Linked DNA regions of Homo sapiens: all the other regions are linked to region 5. The links are contacts of gene promoters, found by promoter capture Hi-C in blood cells and fetal thymus (Javierre and others, 2016). All regions are on one chromosome and are shown on one strand. Each heading gives the region's core, a stretch centred on a gene start or on the middle of the fragment in contact. The rest is flanking DNA. Distances are from core to core; before and after follow the strand shown.

Region 1 (4,755 bases), core at 1,099-3,598, 960 kb after region 5:
CCAGTTTTTCTTATTATTTACATCTTACGTTAGTATGGTACATTTACAAGTAACAATACAGTATTATTAACTAAAGTGTGGACTTTTTAAAGATTTCCTTAGTTTCTACCTAATATCCTTATTCTGTTCTAGGATTCCATCCAGGGTGCCATATTACATTTACTCATCACGTCACCTTTGGCTTCTCTTGGTTATGGCAGTTTCTTAGACTTTCTTTATTTTTGGTGACCATGACAGTATTGAGGAACACTATTTAGCATTTTGTATGCTCTTAGCTGGGATGAGTCTGATGTTTTTCTCATTATTAGATTGGTGATATAAATTTTGGGGAGAAAGACTGCAGAGGTAAAGTGTCATTTTCATTACATCGTATCAAGAGTATATACCATTGACATGATGTTGACCTTTATCACCTGGCTGAAGAAGCATTTTTCAGTTTTCTCTACTGTACAATTACTCTTCCCCCACTACTCCTGCTTTCATACTCAACTCTTTAGGAAGTAGCCCACACTTAATAAATAAGGAGTTATGCTCCACCTCCTTGAAGGCAATATACATACATAACATCTATAAAACCTCAGCATAATTATTAGGAATTCTTCTGCACAAGATAGTTTTCTCTTCTCCCTTTATTTACTTAATCAATTATTTATTTATATCAGTATGGACTGATACATATTTATTTTGTATTTTGGGTTATACTCCAATACGTCATTTTCTTTTTTTTTTTTTTTTTTTAGCTCATATTGTTCCAGCTTTGGCCATTGGGAGCTCTTTCAGTGGCATCTGTGTTGTCAACCCTTACGGCATTTTTTTTTCTTTTCTCCCATCCCCTACCCCATGCCTTTTTTTTTTTTTTTTTTTTTTACTTCCTTACTTTCTGGAACTACAAGACCCAGACTCATGTATATTTCCTGCCTTTGTCCTAGAATCAGCTATTTCTTCAGGGAACCCTGCTTCCTTTCACTGGAGGATATTGAAAATCAAGATCTGGTACTAGATATGCTCATTGCTACTGGAATGTCATTGTTCTTCTACATCCTCTTAGTTGACAGAGCAAGAAAATTATATATATATTTATATATAATATATATAAAAACCATGAAAATATAGATATCTATAAATATTTTTATGAAACATTCTATATCCAGATTAAGCTAAACATTTGTTTATACTAATGTCTTCAGCTGTAATCCATTACCAGGTGGAGCATTCTGTGTGAATAGATGGATTATAGCCTTATGTCCTTGTTCATCTGCACACTTCCACACCAACAGTGAAAAACTTGGCTCCCATAATTCTCCATCCATTTATTTGTTTAGATTCAGTTCAGACTCCCAACCCCTACTCACCCACAATACTAAGTAATGTAGCCTTCTTGGGGTGTTATATCCAGAGCCCTTTGCTAATCATCTCCCTTCAGTTATGTTAATTTTGATCACCCAGTCAAGACATTGATTTATATTTATTATGTTCTCCCTTGCAAGAAATAAGCAATGTGTGGTCATTTTCTTTGAGACCATACAAACATCCTGCTTCTCATCAAACTTTTCCCCATTGATTCTTCCCACAATCTTACAGTGATGGTTGTAAAGGGTGATTTTCAATTCCATTACACCCTGCACTCATCAGTTGACATTCTACCAGAAGGAAGAGCCTTTCCTTCTCTCCAGCTGTCTGCCTATGTATGTATGTATTTATTTATTATAAGTATAGACTCATGGATTCTTAATTCAATGAGTTGTAATGAATGAATTTGGGTACCTTATTGTTTTACATTTGTCAAGTAAGAGCTCCTGCAAGCTGGTTCCTATATTTTTGTTAGACATTGTGAAATTCCCCTACATAAGATTTACACCCTTTTGCCTTCCTGAAAATCATGTATAAAAATGGGCCTGTTTTTCTTCAGCCTCACCAACAAGCTTTTGTTTTTTTGTCAAACTGATGGATGAGAAATTGTTTTCAATATAATTTTAATATGAATTTTCCTTTTATGTAAAATTGAACATATTTTCATATTTTAATGTAATTTTATATCTTTTTTGTGTATTTTCTATTCCTGTCTTTTGCCCATTTTCTAGAGTACTTTTGATCTCCTTTCATCAACTTTTAAAAGTTCTTTATAAATTATGAATATTAGTTCTTTATATTATTTGCAAATATTTTCTTCTAATTTATTTGTCCTATCATTTTGCTTATGGTGTTTTTGCCATTCAATTTTTTTTAGTCAAATATGTCAATTTTTAAAAACTGCATCTGGATTTTTAGTCACAGAAGGCCTTTTCTACCCTCAGATTATAGAGGAATTATAGAGGAATTTATCCATCAAAAATTACTTGTATACTTTTACTTATTAAAAATCTGATCTATTTGAAGTTTGTGCTTACTGGATGACATGAGGAATGGATGAAAATTTATCTTTTGGAAATGGCTTTCCAATTGTCCCAACAGCACTTATTAAAATGTTCTTTGCTGCCCCAGCATTTTGAGTTGCACCTGTATCATATACTAGAATAATTTCCACCTGTGGTCAGGTCTTTTGCTGGACTTGCTGTTCTGCTTCATTGATTTGCATGTGCATTCATGTTCCAGGACCACACCGTTTTACTTATACAGATTTTGTGGTAGGTTTTAATATCTGATGTGGCTGTTATCTCCTCACAACTCTTTCTTTTCATTGTTTTTCTTGATATTCTCTTTTGGCTATTGTTTCATGTGAAAATTCATGTGTAGTAAAGTTCATTTGTTTATTTCCCAGGGGAGAAAAAGCTTATTGGTTTTTTTTTAATTGGGATGTCACAAAATTTATAAATTGACTTAGTGAGTACAAACATCTTTTGATGACATTGAGACATCCTAATCAAGAACCAGGAATGTCTTTCCATTTGTTCAAGTCTACATTTGTGTTTTGCAGAGTGTTTTATTAAAGTGTTGGTCCTATAGGTTTGAAACATTTGGAGTTTATTTCCAAGTATTATCTCTTTTTTCCATTGTTGTTGCAAATGAGGTTTTTCTCTACCATTATATCTTTTAAGTCACCCAGTGGTTCTTAAAGTTCTGATTAAAAGCACTACCAACTGCATTCTTTTCCATTTGAAACAACTATCTCAGTACAGCCAGACTGTGTGTTATGCATCAGAGATATTTCTTCCATGAGTAATTTCCTCTCTATCAGCAGATACATTTTAAACTTCACACATTACTGTTAACTAGAATCTACTGGAACCCTTCACTATCTAGAATTTAAAAGATCAACTACTATCAAATTAGAATATCATTCTGAAAACTCTGAGTTGCTCTTTGAATCAAAGAGAGTCAAAGAGTCAAAGAGAGGAACAGGACCAGAGAGAAGCCCCAATCTCCTTAGCAGTATGTCAGCATTTGGAAGTGCAGCTCTTTGACTAGGTTCATATACAGCATAGGGGTCCCTGTTGCAGATCCATAAAGCCACTGGTCCTGAGTTTCTACAAGTCAATCCTCTTTATAATGCATGAAAGCTGAAGTGTGTTTAAGTATTTTACCATACAGAAAGTATTGGTAGTTTCTTCCCTGTCCATGGAAGCTGCAGTGCTTCATGTAATCTTTGTGTTTGACATTTTTCTGTCTCCATCGACGCATTTGAAGTTGTGCCAGAGGTGGATATCTGTCTTTTTTTATACTTAATCTCTCAACTGTGGGTTTGCATGATTCATTCGAAAACATCATTTGGGGGTCGTGGTGATTATTTATGCAAAAATTCTGAGTATTTGCATAGTCATGAGATTTTAATGAAAACTTGCAAACCATTTTTTACAATTTACTTCTAACGTTGGTTATATCCTACATTCACTAAAAAAGAGATACTGAAAAATACTTAAAAAGAAAGCAAATTTTTGGGACCCAGAATAATGCTGAAGTAAAGCCAGAAATTCAGTTTCTGTAATCTTGAACACTTACTGGGTTTGGGCTGATTCCATAGGGAGCCTTATGTGTCTGTTCATTCTTTCCTGCTCCAGATTTTATTCTTACAGTACGCTTTGTTGGAATAGTTATAAAAGCAACTTTTTAATAATAAGAATTTGTAATATAGAACTAATGACCTTTCAACACCTAATTTAACAAAGGTAATGTAATTTTGCTATCTAGCGTGGATAGGAAGTGGTTCTTATGGCTAATTAAATAATCACGTTATGAAACCATTTCTATCCATTCATTCACATATGCACACATGCATGTGTACACATTTATTTTTTGTTTGTATAATTTATTTAGTATTTCATAACTATGATGGTACTTCTGATTATTGACTTCAGGACCATCACTAGGTGCCAGACACTATTATAAACAAGGTATTTATTCTTCTTAGAAGCCCTAGTAAGTAGTTGCTATTATTATCCTACATTGAACAGATGAGAGAACTGAGGCAAATTAAATAACTTGCCCAAGTTCAACCAGGTAGTAAATGTTGGCAATTTAATTCCTGAGCTCTTAACTACCACATGAGTAACAATTAGAAGAAGTGAAGGCTAAGATTACTAACATGACAAGCAACAGATTGCTATTATTATTATTGTTTTCTTCATCAGTTTCCTGATGTCCATTCTGATTTCCTTTTAGTTTGCTTATACCATTATTTATTGGTATTTATGAGACTTCCAAATTAGTTTTTTGTTCATATTTTCCTTGTCCACTGAACTAGAATGAGGTTCAATTCAGTGTCTTTTCCAGTATTTTATAAACTTTCACATACCTCTTACCCATAAATAATTTTTTAAA
Region 2 (4,393 bases), core at 1,321-3,820, 880 kb after region 5:
TCCTCCAGTCTATTTTGTGTGTGTCTAAAAGCAATTTAGGTAGTGCTATGCACTGAATGTTTGTGTCTCTTCCAAATCCCTATGTTGAAGCCCTAAGCTCCAATGTGATGGTATTTGGAGGTGGGGCCTTTGAGAGGTAATTAAGTTTAGATGAGGTCATGAGGGTGGGGTCCTTATAATGGGATTAGTACCCTTATAAGAAGAAATTAGAGAATTCCTCCCTTACTGCTCTCTCAGGCCCCGCCATGCAAGGATACAGCCAAGAAGGAAGCGAAGTTTGCAAGCTAAGAAATGTCTTGTTTAAGCTACCCAGTCCATGATATTTTGTTATAGTAACCCATGCTGACCAAGACAGGTAGATCAACTGGGGAGGGAAGGGACAACCATCTAACTTTCCTTTCCCCCATATTTATTGTCTCCTTTTAGTCTCATGTGACAGAATCTAAATCAGATGGTGATGAATAGCTTCAGGCATGTTTGGATCCAGCTTTTAAAAATAGTTTATCAGGAATCTGTTTTTCTTTGTTTTTTAATCCTACTCACTTTTTTACTGTTTTGTTTTTAGATATCCTCTTTCCAAGTGATGGCAAAGCTGTGCCCAACAGCAATAGCTTACATTCTTTCAGCATGAAACTCCAGCAAAAGGAACGTGCTTCTTTCCCAGGAGCTTAGAGAAAAGTTTTAAGGCTGATAATTCTTGTCACCAGTGGGACTAGCTTGGGCTATGTGCTTGATGAATATTTATTCTGTCTAGGGGAATGAATACATTGCATGAGCATTCCTGAGTTACCTGTCAGTTCCTGAAGTTTGGAAATGGAGGTGATCATATGAACCAAAATGGGAGAGTCCCCTAAATAAAAACTGGGTGCTATTATTCAGAGAAGGGGCAATGGATGCTGGGCAGGAAAAAAACAAGTGAGCACTGCATTTGGGATAGACTGGATAGACAATTTAAACAGTTATGTACTTAGACCTCCCCGCCCTTTTTTCTAGCATTTTGTGTTCAAGATTTATCTTACTAGATGGAATTAAGAATTTTCAACTAGGTCTATTCTCTCATTGGTTTTGAAAAGGCATGAGTTAATAGATTGCTTTCAATACTGTAATACCATGGCTTTCACTACTGTTTACTTTGGGAATCTTTGGTAACAGTCGTTAAGAATGAATGAACGTGCAATCTAGTTACATAGTGATGTGCCTGCTCCTTCCTTGCCATGTAGGGAGGATGGGGCTAAATATATTTGTATTCAGACTGGCTCCCTTATGAAGTTGGCCCTTTCGTAGATTTATTATGAAGTTGGAAAGCCACTAAACACACACACACACACACACACACACACACACACACACACACACACCAGTTTTGAAGTGTGAGGACTTTGTCCTCTAGCCTATTTTCAAAGTGGTTGAACTATTGTTCCCTTAGCTGTAACCAAGCATTTGAACTGTCAGGCAAAAGGTTTCTTTAAATTTGCAGAAAGCAATGAGTTACAGCGTGGGTAAACACAGATTGGAAGTGTTTCTACAACTATAACCATACAGATCACTAAATCTTCCATAATTAATGTTTGCTTTGCTTTTTCTTTTTGCTGCTGAGTAAGCATGAGATTAAGGTTTTAGCTTTATCCAGTACTGCTTAGTTATTTGTCTTTTTTTCTATTGCCATTTAACCATTAAGCATAGGATGTTCCCTTGAGTTGTTTTTTGTATTTGATTGAATTTTTCTGCTAAACTGCTTGAGCTGTTTCTGTACCAATAGAACCTGTGGGCTGAAGCTCATTACTGTATGACTTTTATAAGGAGCACAGTGCAGCCACAATTAAAGATATATTCTACCTGAACAATGGGCAAGAATATCTCTTGATGTTTAATTTTTCCTTTTGGAAAGATAATTTTTATTTTGTTAATTATGAAGATATGTTTATCATAAAGAATTTAGAAAATGTTATGGTTTTCCAAAGTCATCTATAATTTTATTACCTGGAGATAATCAGTGTTAGCATTTTGATATCTTTCCTTTCAGATCTTTCTTGTGTGTGTATATACACACACTCATACCTACACACATTTTGTTATTGTTGTTGTTTTAATGAAAATGGGACCATATAATAAGCTGTTATATCATATTTGTTTCATTTATGGCATTAAGTATCTCCCACAAGATCACAGCAGTCAGTTTTGTAAAGGTATTTAGTTTACTAACTAGTCTCATTGTTAGATCACTAGGTTATGTCTAGTTTTTCACTCTTATAAACAAGGCTGCAGTTTACATCTTTGTGCATATCAGTGATTATTTCCTTGGTATAAATGCCTCAATTTCCTAGGTCATAACATATGTACTTTTTTCTTTTTTTAGATTTTTATGGATGTATAATAATTATGCATTTTTAGGAAGGTATGCACATTTTAAGGCTTTTGATGGTTATTGGCAAAGTGCCCTCAGAAATATGCCAATTTAAGCTTTCCACAAGACTCTCTATGCTGTCCATTGCTTCACAGCATTGTCAATATTGCTGATTTAATAAGAAGAAAAATTTAATGAATACTTTCTAATTTCTTAAATAAGGTGTGTTTTCTCATGTTTTTCTCATTTGTATATATTAATGTTTTGTGAAATGCTGAGCTCGGCTTTCCTTTCTTTTCTACTGGAGTTTTAATCTTATTAATTTGTACAAGCTTTTCATGTATTTATGACAGTAATTTTTTTTTCTGTTTGTCATTTGATACTGATTGACTTGATTGATACTTTTATAGCATAAATGCTTTTTTCTTTTTACAGTCAACTCTATCTTTTCCTTAATTGGTTTGTTTTGAAATGTTTATGGAAGACATTATGTCATGCGTTGTGTTGAGAGCCTGATAGTCATTATCTCCTTCATTCCACTGTGCAACCGTGTAAGTCAGATATTGTCATCATCCCCATTTTACGGTTGAATAAACTGACTCTACAAACAGCAAATTGGGAATCAAAACCATGTAGCCTAACTCAGAGCTGGCTCCCTTGAACATTTATTTAATTCTTCTCTTGCTTGATTTTGCTCTTGGTGTCCTATTTAGGCCTTCTACCTCTAAAGATTTTGTAACCATTCACCTGTATTTTCTTTCAGTATAATTATGGTTTAATGTTTACCTAATATTTAAATGTTTTATCTCATGATCTCTGGGATCTCTTTTGTTCTGTCATCTGCAGAAACAGAATAACTGCTTGTTGCTTTTTATTCATGACTCTTTCTTTGTTTTTAGAGCTGCTGCTAAATTCCTTTCTTCCTTTTTTCCCATATTAATGCTAGTATAAGTAAGTTCAACAAACATTTTCTGGACATGTTCTTCGTGCAAGAATCTCTGCCAAGCATTGTAGGAATACAAAAGTGAGTAAGACAGAGTCTGCCTCCCCAGAAACTTGTGATGTAATGACAAGAAAGAGAAGCATTCATAAAGAGCTTTAGGGGGAACTATGGTAAGTCCCGTAAGAGATACACATAATATAGTGGGAAAAGGGGGAGGTAGAATATAATATGAATTGGGAAATAATTAAGGAAGGATTTGTGAGGAAGTGAAATTTAAACCAGATCTTGAAGGGTGGGAAAGACTCAGACTCTAAAACTGGGATAATAATAGCACCATCTTATAGGACTGTCATAAAGATCAAGTGAGTTCATACATGTGAAGCGTGTGAGACACTACCTGGCATGCAGTCAAGACCTAAGTCAATGTTAAGCACTGTTTTCATGATCACAACTTGAACAAAAGTTAGAAAAGTGCTGACTGTAGAATAAGGCCTACCCTGTAGATTTTTACTTACGAAGCAGAATATCCCTTTGATTTTTTTGTGTTAGTAGTTGCTGAATTGTACATTTCACTGTTTTCACAAAGTTATCCATGTTGCATCTCAAGGAGGGCAGGATATTTCTGAAGGAAAATAAATTTAATTAACTTGGAGCCAGTTTTATTAACTTTTATATATTATGCTTTTATTTTGAAAATTGTTCATTGGCTACTAATTAACCTTAGAAAGAGGTTTAAGAGAGTCTGAGAGCCTTAGTTAAAGATTGTAATCACAGTTAAATTTAAATATCTTCAAACAGTGATATATATGTTATGGGTATGCCTTTTATTACTCTTGGTAACTTAATAGAGTAATTCCAGCTTAATTTAGATAATAAAAAGAGTTTTAAAAAATTATATTTGATACTTTTGCTGTTTTGGGGACTTGCAGGTTTCTCTTGGTTGCTGGTAGGACCCTGCCAGGGAACAACAGTCAACATGAGAGACTAGGAAGCAGGAAGCTTGGAGTCTACAATAGAATTTTAAGAGCAGCACTATATAGCATAATGGAGTGCCACTTGAAATGAAATAAATGCGTTATAATTATTATTATAATTCAAAGCAGCTA
Region 3 (4,562 bases), core at 273-2,772, 710 kb after region 5:
AGAGGAACGAACAACTCCAGACGCGCTGCCTTAAGAGCTGTAACACTCACCGCGAAGGTCTGCAGCTTCACTCCTGAAGCCAGCGAGACCACGAACCCACCAGAAGGAAGAAACTCTGAACATGTCCGAACATCAGAAGGAACAAACTCCGGACACACCATCTTTAAGAACTGTAACACTCACCGTTGAGGGTCTGCGGCTTCATTCTTGAAGTCAGCAAGACCAAGAACTCACCAATTCCAGACACGCTAGGTGCTAGGGATACAGTACTAGCCACAGCAGACATGAGTTCTGCCCTCATGGAGCCTTAATTACAACCTGTGAGGTACATGTTGACTAGGTGATTGTGAATGTGATTAGCTGTATGAAGGGCAAAATGTGAGTTTTGTTGAACAGAAACTAAAAATGTATGTTATTTTTGATAGAAGGTGTGTGATAAAACATTTATCCAACTTGCTTTTTCCTCCCATTTTATGAATTTACATCATCTTGTCTGCTTAAACAGGAGCAGTTGGACATCATGGAGACAACTTAGTAGAGAAGATCATTTCAGCACTTCCCCAGCTCCCAGGCCACACAAATGATGTGATGGTTAACATGATAGCGCTCACTGCACTCCATACTGAGGAGGAAAATTATAATGTGGTTGCACCAGGCTGTCTTTCACAATCCAGGTAAGATATATAGTTTTTGTCATCTTATCTTTCTCTGTCTTCCCCTTTCTTTTTCTCCTAGACTGAGTATTCCCATAGGAAAAAAGCAATGAAGAATTGGTCTGGTTGAAAATTTCACAGTGGGTAGCATTTAGCAAAAAGCATTTTTTCTTAATTTTGAAATAACCACATCCACTAAACATAATAATCCAGAAAGTATGGAATTTTATAGAACTGTCATTTACATGTAATATAAGCTTGTTCCCAGGATTGGTTAAGTGAATCAGTTTATGTATCTCCATTTCACAGATAGTTTCACATGGAATTGAGTCTAGTCTTCCTCAGTTTCTTTTTCCCAGTTGACTTTTTCACATCACTAAAAAGCAACTCAAACAGCAATGAAACCATGCCATCTTTTTATATTAGATGATATACCTGTGGATATCAACAGAAGTTTTTATTTCTAAGTATATTTTTTTTCACATGCTTAGAGGAATCAAAGAGAGAAGATTATGTACGTTGTTATGCAGAGTTTAAAAAATAAGAATTTCTCCAGAAATGACAATGAAAATATATGATAGTCACTTTCTCAACTTTGTCCTTCATTAACAATTCTCTTGGGAATTACTCTTGTTTGAAAAAATAAAAGTATTAGAAGGGAAAAAAGTATGTAAGTGTATCTGTTTTTTATTTTCATGTTTTATATTTTTAAATAAAACAGGATCTTTCAGTATTATAGTTTTAAATCTTCACTGTAGCAGATGCATTTGGAATTTCCTCCCATATTTATTAATATAATTAGTATATGTAGCTCCTGAAGTTTTTAGCCTTTTTGTAGATATTTAAGAATACTTATTGGATACCCAATGTTTGTGGGTCAATGTGGGAAGAAAATGGGAAGTTCTAGACTTTTGTCCATTTGGTGTGTTTACACATACAATAAAAGCATAGGCCTAAAGGCTTGCAGCTCTACAAACCCAGAAGTAATGTGATTGGAAACACATTTAACTGTTCAGAGAGCCATTCAGAAGTTAATTATTAAGGACTTAACTGTGAGCCTTACTCTAGGTTAACTAACAGGAACGACATAAAATAATATATTATTATTCAAACACTCTTTTTGTTGGGGAGTCATGATTTATACCCAAGCATAATTTGAAAAGAATAGAAATGATATGAAGTTAAGATTAATGTATCTGCTATGGAGTATAATTTCTACAAGTATCAGGTTAATGTAGTCTTTGTAGATCAATGTAGACCTTGAGGAAGTGGCACTGCTTTAATTATGTCTTGAATGACTTAGAAAAGAGGAGGGGGTTGATGTGAACCAAAGTATAGAAACAAAAAATGGTCAGGGCCTGACGTCAGTGAGAGATGACCTCATTGGACCACTTCTGTCATCTGCTCTGTTCACATTTTTTGGGAGTTATGATGAGCTAGATACACTTCCAAGCATTTTACGTTTGGGAAATTAAGCTTTACAGTATCCTAATGAGGTAGATGTTGTTATTCCCCTATTTTATTGGTAAGGAAACTGAGGCAAAGAGACATTAAGTAACAGAGTTCGTGGGAGGTAGAGCTAGAAATGAGTCCAGAATGTTTGACTTTAGGCCAGGTACAATGGCTTATGCCTGTAATCCCAGCACTTTGGGAGGCTGAGGCTGGTGGATCACCTGAGGTCAGGAGTTTGAGACCAACATGGCCAACGTGGTGAAACCCTGTCTCTACTAAAAATACAAAAATTAGCTGGGCATGGTGGCAGGTGCCTGTAATCCCAGCTACTCAGGAGGCTGAGGCACGAGAGTATCTTGAACCTGGGAGGAGGAGGTTGCAGTGAGCCAAGATTGTGCCATAGCACTCCAGCCTGGGCAACAGAATGAGACTCCATTTCAGGAAAAAAGAAAAAGTTTGACTTTTGAGCCACTGTCTTAACTTCTATGCTATCTATGTGAAGGGTCCAGAGAAGAGCTAGGCTCTTGAATAGATTTAAAGAGATGACAGACAAAAATAAAGTTACTCTTTGAGTTAATTTGGGAGTCCTATGTTTTCAACATAGTGATTATACAAACAATGGAAATCAATTTTGGCTAATTTAAGCAATAAAGGGTTTTTAAAGGGTATTGGGTAGCTAAAAGAATGAAAGGAAGGATTATTAATCAGATTTTTGAAAGGACAAAATAGTTCTAGGAATATAGGAAGCAGAGGCTCAGGAAAAACCTGTTTAAGGCATTGACATTAGAGAGACTGAATTTTAACTGTTTTCTTTGAGTCCTTCTCCTTAAGATTCAGATTCTGGGGGAAATGGTAAGACTGACTTTTCTTGGCCATTGTGCCCACCTTTTGCCCAGTGTGGGTTGGGAGCTGTTTATACTGACTAGAATTATGCTAATATCATATGGCATGGCGGAGGGGTGGTTCTTCAAAGGAAAATGGAAACACTTATCAGAAGATGGGGGAACAGATGCTGGACATGCAAAAATAGTAGATGCCCCTTAGTAATAGCACACACTTACAGAGGACCTTTTGTGTAACAGGCATCATTCTGAGCACTTAATACATATTAACTTACGTACTTCTCACAATATCTCTATGAGGTGGATTCTCTTAGCGTCCCCGTTTATAGAAGACGAAGGAAGTTAAATAACATGCCTAAGGTAACGCATACAGTTAGACTTGGTGGAGGCCTATATTTGAACCCAGGCAGCCTGGCTCTAAAATTAGTGTTTACCATTACCCTGTGCCACTTCCACAGAAACCTAAGGTAATTACCAAAAAAATAAGTAAGCTCCCCAGAGGAGTTTGCTAAAAGAAAGAAGAGCCCATCATTGGACAGAGGTAAAGAAGCAAATTTTTAGAAGTGTAGTAGAACAAACATAGGTATAAAAGTATTTCAGTCCTATAAGTAATGTTTTGATTATAGTCACTTTATTTAACCTTGACTCCCCAGCACTGATTCTATTACAAGCTTAGACCAAGGCTAAGCCAATCTTGGAATCTCATTTCCCTTGGCAGTGATGCTTTAGAAATGGGCAAGTGACAAGAGAGAAAGTCTTAGGGCTTCTTGGTCAGGTTTCTTTGCTACTGACAAGAGACTCAATAGAAATATTCTTCCAGATGTGACCAATATGTCAGACATATTGAGTCTGATAACTGCTGCAGCTATCTTGCTCACATCTGGAAGTTAATGCTAACACGTGGAAGGTGGCCTTGCCAAGAGAACTGCAGAGAGGAGCAGCTATAAGCTCCTTGATGCACGATGTTTGGACGTCATGTTGTATGGGAGAATATATTTCCTGTTGTTTAAGCCAAATTTAGTTGCTGTTTTCTATCACTTGCAGACAAAGTCTTCATGACACATTTTTTACACCTCATTATTTCATCTTATAAAATGAGGGCATTGGCCTAAATGACTCCTAAGGCTTTTCTTGGGTTTAAAATAAAAATCGTTCCTAACTGAGCCCCTGCTGTGACTCAGCTCTGCCTCTCACTTAGGCTATGTTCATGTATACATATTTTGTCTCCATGGTCTTTGCCTTCATTCGCTGTCCTTTTCTTCTCATTAGACTATGAGTGAGTGTTATCATAGATTATGAGCTTTGAGTGCCATTCAAAAATCACACCTGTAATCCCAGCACTTTGGGAGGCCCAGATTGGTGGATCACTTGAGGTCAGGAGTTTGAGACCAGCCTGGTTAACATGGTGAAACCCCATCTTTACTTAAAAAAAAAATACAAAAATTAGCCAGGCATGGTGGCGCATGCCTGTAATCCCAGCTACTCGGGAGGTTGAGGCAGAAGAATCACTTGAATCTGGGAGGTGGAGGTTGCAGTGAGTTGAGATTGGGCCATGGCACTCCAGCCTGGGCAATAGAGTGAGACCCTGTCTCAAAAAAAAAAAAAAATATGGTCA
Region 4 (4,381 bases), core at 795-3,294, 670 kb after region 5:
TACGCAAAGTAGGATGTAAATTAAAATAAAATTATCTATATAGAACTGTGTACAGTAGAGTGGTTGTATCTGCAGACATAGCACACACACTGCATAAGGCAGTATTCTGGTGGACAGGGCTGCAAACCCAAAAGGGGAGCAGTGGTCTCTTTCCAGTCCACTAAAGTTCCCTGAGTATACAACCCAATCTAAAAGCCACTCCCAATCTTCATCCCAGTGTCATTCAATATAAGAGTCAACTATTAAGGTAAAGAAAAAAGAGTACACAATCAGTTTTCCATAAAAGAACTATGACAATATAGTATTATTCTTTGGACTGGGTCTGTGATCATACCATGGAATGGAGAAGCCAGAAATCAGACTTGTTATACAAGTTGTAGTATCAACCTCAAAGTCTCTCACATAAACCTACTCCTTTTAAGAACAAATTTTTAAAATCAATGGCAGTATCTCATTATGTTGAGTTCTTAAAGCCTCTCAGAGAATGCCTAAGATTTTTGAAGATATCTTGAGCTATCAGGGCATTACACCAATGATATCAGTGTTATAAGTGTCATAGAGATAAACAGTATGCCACCTTCCTTACCATTTTTTTAAAGAGAACAAAAAAGTTTCCAATTCTGTTGATAAAGATTAGAGTATTATCTACAATGAGAGCATAATCTGTTGCCACTAACTTTTCTATCCTACAAACATGTATTACGACTCAAAATGAAATCACAACATATAGCAAACAATAGTTTTACTCGGCATTTGTTAGTATAATAGGCTATAAATTCACATGCTTGCAAAAGTGGAGATAAAACAACAATCAGCAAATTTGTAAGTCACCAGGAAGCTGAAGGTTTGGAAAAAAGGTAGCTATTTCCACTTTAATCTTGTCCCTTGAGTAGTGGCATGGGAGCAGACTCAAGAACAAAAAATGAGAGCAACCAAGGATAATTTACTAAAATTCACCTTAAAAAGATTGAATCTGCCATCTTGGATCTCTGCACCTGGTGTAACTTCCATAGTACAGTCTTCGGCCTAAGTTAAATAACATATTCCCCATTAAGATACCACATAATATTTAATTAATAGGCCATATAAAGACAAACTAGCTGTGGCTAGTCTGTGATTTGAAAGTAAGAACATCAGATAATCATTAAATACGAAACTCTAAAAGGGAGGGAAGGGAAAAACAAACATGGTAAACAAAATGGAATTTTTAAACTATCATATAGCATTTAACCACTTTTATAGGGAAGCGATTTATTTGGGGAGTAAAAGTGGGACGGTAGACAAGCCAAGGGTATTCCGGAGTATTTATTAATTACCGTAATTTTATTTGTAGTAGAGGTTACTGGTATAACTTCAAGTCCCATTCGTATCCTCTTTTGTTTTTCACAGTAAGCTTTCCAGGTATCTTCATTAAACCCATAATTAAAATAATCAGAAAGATCAGCACCTAAAGATAAAACACAACTTTAGTGTACAAATATTTCAGCTCTATTTTTATGCAGCATCAAAAATATACTAAACTATAAAAATATAAATTTAGAGTTCTATCAGTTATCACTCTATCATTTATGGTGGCAAAAAGACTATATCATTTTTGATCAAATTATTCCCTTTACAAACGCCATTATAATAAACAATAAGTCTACATTTTAAGTAATACAAGGCCACCAGTAAGATTTAATAATCCCAAGTCATTATTACTCATCATTTGCTTAAGACAATTAAAATTATAATGAAAAAATAAAATTCTAAATTGATGTTCAAAAAAATTTTCTGATGACTTCACACTGAAAATATTGAAATTAATATAATCCACAATAATCTTACCAGGTTTACGCCATGGTTTATCTTCAAAAGAATCCAAATCTACCTCTAAGAGTGGAACTCCATTAATGCTTCCAGGTGCATCAAGGTCTACTCCTTTGACTTTTGTCCCTGTTTTATAAAATTACAAAATGAAGGAGCTATACTTGCAAGAAGCCAGGCGATACCATAGACAAACAGAAAATATAAACACCTTTTTACTATTCCTGGCACATATACACACACAAACAGAAAACAAACATCTTTTTACTATTCCTGGCAAAAAACCTGGCAAGGGTTCCAAACAAAGCAGAGCCTAAAATACGTGCTACTGGACTCTTGCCAGAAAAACTTTACCAGTCTCTGTGATGTACGGTCAAAAATTACTCTTTAAAAAGAGCTATTATCACCTTGGCCGGGCGCAGTGGCTCACACATGGAATCCCAACACTCTGGGAGGCCAAGGCAGGTAGATCACTTAAGCTCGAAAGTTCAAGAGCAGCCTGAACAACATGGTGAGACCTGGTCTCTACATAAAAATACAAAAATTGGCCAAGCATGGTGGTGCACGCCCGCAGTCCCAGCTACTTGAGAAGGTGAAGTGGGAGGATGGTTTGAGCCCAGGAGACGGAGGTTGCAGTGAACTAAGATTGCGCCACTGTACTCCAGCCTGAGTGACAGAGCCAGACTCTGTCCCCGACTAAAAAAAAAAGCTATTAAGACCTATTTAAGATATGTGCCTTATTTCCCTATTGATGCAACAGAAAATACAAATTTTACCTGTAGTTCCATAAACTCTTCCCCCTGTCTTGATGTTAAGATTTACAGGTGCTGTACCATAACTCCTAAAAACAAACAAACAAAAAAAAACAGAAATTATCCTGAAAAGCTTAAACAAAACAGTAATATATTCCATTTGTACAAACAAATTATACAATCACATAGTAAATGGATAGTGTGACACACATTTTATTTCTATCTTTATTTTTTAAATTTTGTATAGATGAGATCTCATACCATGTTGTCCAGGCTGGTCTCGAACTCCAGAGCTCAAGCAATCCTCCCACCTTGGCTTCCCAAAATGCTGAGATTACAAGAGTGAGCCACCGTGCCCAGCTAACACATATTTTAAAAAACATTTTAAACTGATTTTTAAAGTCACTTGCTCAATAAAAGGCAAAAACAGTAAAAAAAAAAAGCCTGACTTGTTTCCATTTCAAAAACCTTTTTGCCAATAACTCAACATTCTACTGTAACAAACTTCACAAGAAATAAGGCTAAGAAGGGAAAAATAGTTTACACCCCTTGTCTTCATTTCCTTGCCTCCCAGTTATTAAATATACAGCACTCTTAAGCATAAGTAAAATTCCTCCAACTTGTTGTCAAATCTAGTGGCCTTTCAGTTCTTCTTGCATTTGATATTGTTAATAAATCCTTTTTCAACTATTCATGGAGTACTCAGTCCATAACAGAAATTTATTGACAAGAAATTCAAAAATAAGTCTAGCATGAAAGCAGAACAGTGTTTGCCGGTGGTGGGTGGTTAATGACCAAGAGGCAAAATGAGAGAAACTTCTAGGATGCCAATTATGTTTCATATCTTGATCTGGCTGTAGTTACATGAATGTATATATTTGAAAAAATATTAAGCTGCACCTTTTTAGATGTAATATAATACACAGTGATAAAGAAAAAAATATCTGAAGTTGGACCAACCCACATTCAAATGTTTTGTCAATTGCTAGTTGTGTAATCTTGGCCAAAACACCTAAGACTTGTATACAATTATTTGAATAATTCATTGCATTTTTACTTGTATAAATGAGCCTTGTATACATTTTCTGTAATACGGGGTTACAGACAGTTCTTTACTTCTTTATATAATGGATTCTTATATATGAGTAGTATTATCAAATATACTAATTAAAAGAGACTTTTCTGTTACTAGGGAAGTTAGAAGAAAACGGGAATGGGCAAAGAAGGACCAACTCCCACTGAACAAAAACATATCAGTAAGACGGCCGGGCACGGCGGCTCACGCCTGTAATCCCAGCACTTTGGGAGGCCGAGGCGGGTGGATCACGAGGTCAGGAGATCAAGACCATCCTGGCTAACACCATGAAACCCCGTCTCCACTAAAAAATAGAAAAAACTAGCCAGGCATGGGGGTGGGCGCCTGTAATCCCAGCTACTCAGGAGGCTGAGGCATGAGAATGGCGTGAACCCAGGAGGCGGAGCTTGCAGTGAGATCGCGCCACTGCACTCCAGCCTGGGCAAAAGAGCGAGACTCTATCTCAAAAAAAAAAAAAGATATCAGTAAGACCTCAAGTCACAGATGTTTATAATGATATATTTCTCACATTATATTCATGTTATATATTTGGTTCTTTTCTCTCAGAACTTCAGCCATCTGGACTTCAGATTCACTGCTTTGGGTCTAATAATAATTACTTCCATCTTTTGTCTCTGATGTACTACATTTAAGACTTAGGTTTAGTTACATTTGCACTGTCACTTTTCTTTTCTACTTAAAAAAGAAAAATGTAAATTCAATAAAATGTTTAATTGTATCAAATAAC
Region 5 (4,410 bases), core at 350-2,849:
AGTGGCAGAGCTGACATTCAAGGCCAGGTAGTCAGGTTCCAGAACACACATTGTTAAACACCAGACCAAGCTGCCTCCTGTGTGCCCCACTGACACTTCCTGTGTCCTCCTCCATGAGCCCCTGGCAGAGATGACAATTGCTTGCCTTAACAATAGATAAGCTACCAGAAGTCAGGGCCTGTGCCTCATTCACACACGTCCACAGTGCCTGCCACATAGCTAGAGTTCAGTAGATATTTGTTGAATGAACAAATACCCTCCAGGGAGGGATACAATAAGTCTGATACAACTACTGTATTTTTCCTTCATTTTTTCTTGGCTAACCACACTCATTTCCTTCAGTTGTTTCCAAAAGGAGGTTGGCATCTCTCACTGTCCTCATTGACCTCCTTTGCACTTTCTCCACGTCAACAGTGACCCATCTAAAGCCGACTACTGTGACATGAACACTGCACTTGAAGAGCCTGACCAGCGCTGGGCTCAGTAGAACTATCCTTTCTTCTCCCATGGTGTATCCTCACTGTCCAGGACTCTCTTCTCAGAAGCCCACTCCTTCCCCTGTGCTGTTTATATGCTTAATGAAACCAAGTACCCAAAGTGACCGTTCAACTGTTACTAGGCAGCTAAGTAGACTCCATTAAACCTTTTCCTTCCTTCCTCCCCTTCTTTCTTTCTCTCCCATTCTTCTTTCATTCTTCTCGTCCTTCCTTCTATCCTTTCTTCCTTCCTGCCTCCTTTTCTTCCTCTCCTCTGCCCTTTCTTTCAGGTCTTTTTTGTGGTAGGAACTGGTAAGAAAAGGAAAGGAATTCCCTAAGATTTTAAGGAAACAACAACAAAAACCAGGTTATGTTTGGTGAGAGAGTTGGGGCAAGAAACTGCATCTTCTAATATGGAATCCAGGTAATTTATCAGTTTTTTTTCATAGCATGACTACGGTGAGATTTCTTGTAAGAAAAAAAAAAAAATACCAGCATCGCTGGCCTCATATATTGGATTATACTTAAGGGGATCAAGGGATAAGATGTTTGAATTTGGAGATGTCTTGAAAAATCCTGTGGTGAGCACAAATGTTTGCAGTGTCTCTGCTGGACTCCTCAAATTGGGAAAAAAGAGACTCTGGTTCTCATCATAGACTCAAAACCTGAGGAAAAGCGAGATGCGATTATTAGATAAACTGGCAATGACACGCACAAAAATGTGTCTATTCCAGCCAGGGCTTTTCTTTTCAGTTGTTTGTTTTGGTTAGAGATGACTTTGGGGAACTGCATGTCCCACTGGACATTCCAAGCTGCGTTGTCGGAGTCGCGGGTCGCGGCCTCCAGTCAGCGGAGCCGCCGCCCCCAGGGTCCGCCACCCAGAAGTCGGCGGAGGGGGGCCCGCCGGCGGGAGCGCGCGCCCCGGTCGCCGTCTGCGGGTAGAAGCAGAGGAAAGACGGTGGCCTGGGAGCGCGCGAGGCCGCACGTGCGCGCGCCCGCCCGCCCGCCAGCCAGTCCGCTCGCCCACGCGCCCACGCACGCGCCCGCCCGCCCGTTGGCCCGGGAAGTCTCGCGATGCCGTAGCCGGCTGCTCCCGCTGCGGGTGGCTCGGGCTGTTGCTGTGGTTTCCTGAGTTGCTGCTGCTGCGGCGGCGGCAGCGGCGTCTGTGCTTGTGGAGGTGTCGGCCTCTGGGCGGATGTTGACATTGTGTTGTTGTTATTGCTGATGGTAATGGCGGCGGCGGTGGCGGCGACGGTCCAGACCCCATCCCCTCTGTAGCCGGAGCCGAGACAGCCGACAGCGAACTCCGCGGCCTCGGAGCCGGCGGCAGCGGCGACTCCCCTCAGCCTCCGCCGCCTCGCCCGCCGGTACCCCGGCGCCAACCCCGGGAGTCAGGCCCTTTGGGCAGGGGAGCTCGGAGGCTCAGGATGGCGGATTTCGACGAAATCTATGAGGAAGAGGAGGACGAGGAGCGGGCCCTGGAGGAGCAGCTGCTCAAGTACTCGCCGGACCCGGTGGTCGTCCGCGGCTCCGGTCACGTCACCGTGTAAGGCCCGGAGGAGGGCGAGGGCGGGAGGTGCGGGCTGGGGTGGGCCCCGTTACTCCACGGGAGCCCCGTTTCCCCTGTGTCCGTCTGGTGTCGGGGGCCTTCCGAAAGAGTAGGCAACCAGGAAGTGAGAACTTGGCTTATTTTCATTTGTTTGGGTCTCCGAAGTGGGGACGGACGCTGTCCTTCCTCCTCCACACACCCCTTTAGCAGGCCCTACAGGCCCGGGCGATGTGACGATCCCAGTAGGCACGGGTTTTCATTAGGGTCTGCCCTGCGGGCCACCCTTCCTCTTCAGGGTGGAAGTACGTGTATTGACAGGGAGCCTCCTTGTTTTCTCGCCCAGTTACCCTGTGGTTGTCTGTGCCTTTGCACCCAGTGACATGGCTCAGAGGCCAGATCTGGGCCGTGTGAGACCCCAGTGACAATTGGCAGCGAAGCTCCGTTTCGTGTCTATTTCACACATACCCACAGGTCTCCCAGTTTTTCCACTAATTTCCGCAGAACTAATGCAAGTTCTTGTAATTGTACGTGATAAAAATATATAGTTGAACACAAATTTAAGATATACAGAAAGAAATATGTTTACAACAACAACAACAACAACTACGTGAGGGACATACACTCTGCTCAGGTTACTGAGGGAAAATTGTAGTCCTGAAGCTCCTCCTTGGGGCACGAACTTGGGGCTTGTTAATTTGGAAAGTCCCACTAGTAACATTAAAAGTCTGATATTAATAAGGAATGAAAGCTTTCGGAAAGACCATGACAAAGGAATGTGAAGCCTTGAACCAAATAATGAGCTGTCCGGAAGCAGGAAGTTTTGTAATGTTTCACTATGAAGTCCACAGTTTTGTACCACTTGATGTATTACATTGATACTCTCTCATTTTAGATCTCTTGTTCAAATAATAGATCAGACTTCCATACTTGTCAGGTATCTCTGTACTTCTTCACCTTTTCAGTGAAACAAAAGAGCCAGCAAGTCTGAGAATGTCTGGAATAGTCTTCATTATATTTTGGTGAAGAGTGAGTGGGATGTGCTGTGAATAACTTAGGGAAACAGTAAGACTTCTCATATAAGTTTGTCAGCAAAATAATTGCATTTCTCGTATGACCAGCCATATTGTTGTTTGAGTATGCTTATGTAATGCTTTAATTTCTTTAGTACCTGTTAGTTTATGTTCAGGTGACTTAACAGGGTAAAAACACTGCATAATTGCCATCACAGCACCATGACAAGACAGTGGAATTTAATTCACCACAATAATACTTTCTAAGTGTTGTCACCAGCTTAAGAAGTATAACCAAATATCATGGATATTAAACTTTTAACATATATCACAGAATTCATAACCTGCCATTTGATTTTATTTTGACTTTTAGGACCTTTTTGCACTGTTTTAAGCCTAAGGAGTATGTGGATGCTTAAAGAAGTGATTTCCAAACTTTGTCATGCCATCTATCCCTCCTTCTACATTCCTCATGTCAAAGAAAAGCTAGAGAATTTTGTCATTTAAAAAGGCGACGCTGTAGTTGTAATGTTTCCTCTGTTAAGGAGAAGAAAAGCTAAGCACTTTGTTGGGCAAGTGGAAAATGCAATAGTGGGCAAAGTGCTCAGAACCTAGGTAATCAGTAAACTTGATTGTAGTTGGCTACGTGGAGAGGTTAATAGGGTAGAAAATAATTATTAGTGGTTTTCAAACTTAGCTGTCCATTAGAATCCTGGGTGTCTTTAAAAAAAGACCATTGTCTTTGCTCCACCCCAGGCCAGTTGAAGGCCAAATACTAAGTGAGGGTCCTAGGAGTGGACAGTTAAAATAATAAATAAATAAATAAATAAATAAATAAAATCTCACAGGTGATTCTAATGTGTAGCCAAGATTGAAAACTATTCCAGGTTATAGGGAGGGACTATCTATCATCAATAAACAGTATGCCTTTCTACATTGTGAGTTAAATCTCTGATTTTCCTCAGCAACTTCCTTCTTCTCCCATTTATCTTGGTTCTAGGCTCTGGGTTAAAATCTATCTCAGCTACTTCCTGGATAAATTGTTTATTCATGACCTTTAGTTGAGATGGGGATAGTTATAGTCGATACCTTTTAAGATTATTAAGGATTAAATGAGATAGTACATGAAAAGAATTTATTGCACTGTGTGGTACTATGTTCAATAGATACTAGTTTTTATTATTCTCCTCCTCAGATATAGTTTTCCACTTTGAGAAACAGGTGTAAAACAAAGTACTAAAAAATTAGAACTGCCATTATCAAACATAACAATGATTCACCTTAGTCTTATTTTTCCATTTCTAAGCAATGTGTATGTGCTTAAATTACTGTGTTTGAAGTATTTTGATGACAATAAGGATCTTTCTGCATTGAA

The links. The method cuts DNA at HindIII sites, captures the fragments that hold promoters and counts their contacts. A CHiCAGO score of 5 or more calls a contact.
Region 1: a contact is called between a fragment that was not itself captured here and the fragment with the promoter of CHIC2 in region 5, in 1 of 17 cell types (endothelial precursors). The highest score is 6.0, in endothelial precursors.
Region 2: a contact is called between a fragment that was not itself captured here and the fragment with the promoter of CHIC2 in region 5, in 1 of 17 cell types (total B cells). The highest score is 7.1, in total B cells.
Region 3: a contact is called between a fragment that was not itself captured here and the fragment with the promoter of CHIC2 in region 5, in 2 of 17 cell types (total B cells and total CD4 T cells). The highest score is 6.0, in total B cells.
Region 4: a contact is called between a fragment that was not itself captured here and the fragment with the promoter of CHIC2 in region 5, in 1 of 17 cell types (total CD8 T cells). The highest score is 7.4, in total CD8 T cells.

The regions. Positions count from the first base shown.
Region 1 is chr4:53,099,881-53,104,635 of GRCh38, reverse strand. The region is part of intron 5 of SCFD2 (sec1 family domain containing 2); the gene reads left to right. Among named protein-coding and RNA genes, the nearest start is that of SCFD2-AS1, 170 kb to the right of the region's middle. The HindIII fragment of the contact is 847 bases long and covers 1,925-2,771 here.
Region 2 is chr4:53,185,384-53,189,776 of GRCh38, reverse strand. The region is part of intron 4 of SCFD2 (sec1 family domain containing 2); the gene reads left to right. Among named protein-coding and RNA genes, the nearest start is that of SCFD2, 180 kb to the left of the region's middle. The HindIII fragment of the contact is 216 bases long and covers 2,463-2,678 here.
Region 3 is chr4:53,348,710-53,353,271 of GRCh38, reverse strand. SCFD2 (sec1 family domain containing 2) reads left to right here. Exons shown (of 9, transcript NM_152540.4): 2 at 506-674. Among named protein-coding and RNA genes, the nearest start is that of SCFD2, 15 kb to the left of the region's middle. The HindIII fragment of the contact is 1,219 bases long and covers 913-2,131 here.
Region 4 is chr4:53,388,075-53,392,455 of GRCh38, reverse strand. It overlaps FIP1L1 (factor interacting with PAPOLA and CPSF1), which reads right to left. Exons shown (of 18, transcript NM_030917.4): 6 at 2,583-2,647; 7 at 1,828-1,935; 8 at 1,317-1,447; 9 at 958-1,026. Among named protein-coding and RNA genes, the nearest start is that of FIP1L1, 13 kb to the right of the region's middle. The HindIII fragment of the contact is 1,298 bases long and covers 1,396-2,693 here.
Region 5 is chr4:54,061,794-54,066,203 of GRCh38, reverse strand. CHIC2 (cysteine rich hydrophobic domain 2) reads left to right here and starts at 1,599. Exons shown (of 6, transcript NM_012110.4): 1 at 1,599-2,022. The coding sequence starts at 1,904. RefSeq lists silencers at 1,292-1,531, 1,762-1,891 and an enhancer at 1,691-2,191. The HindIII fragment of the contact is 3,181 bases long and covers 1-2,775 here.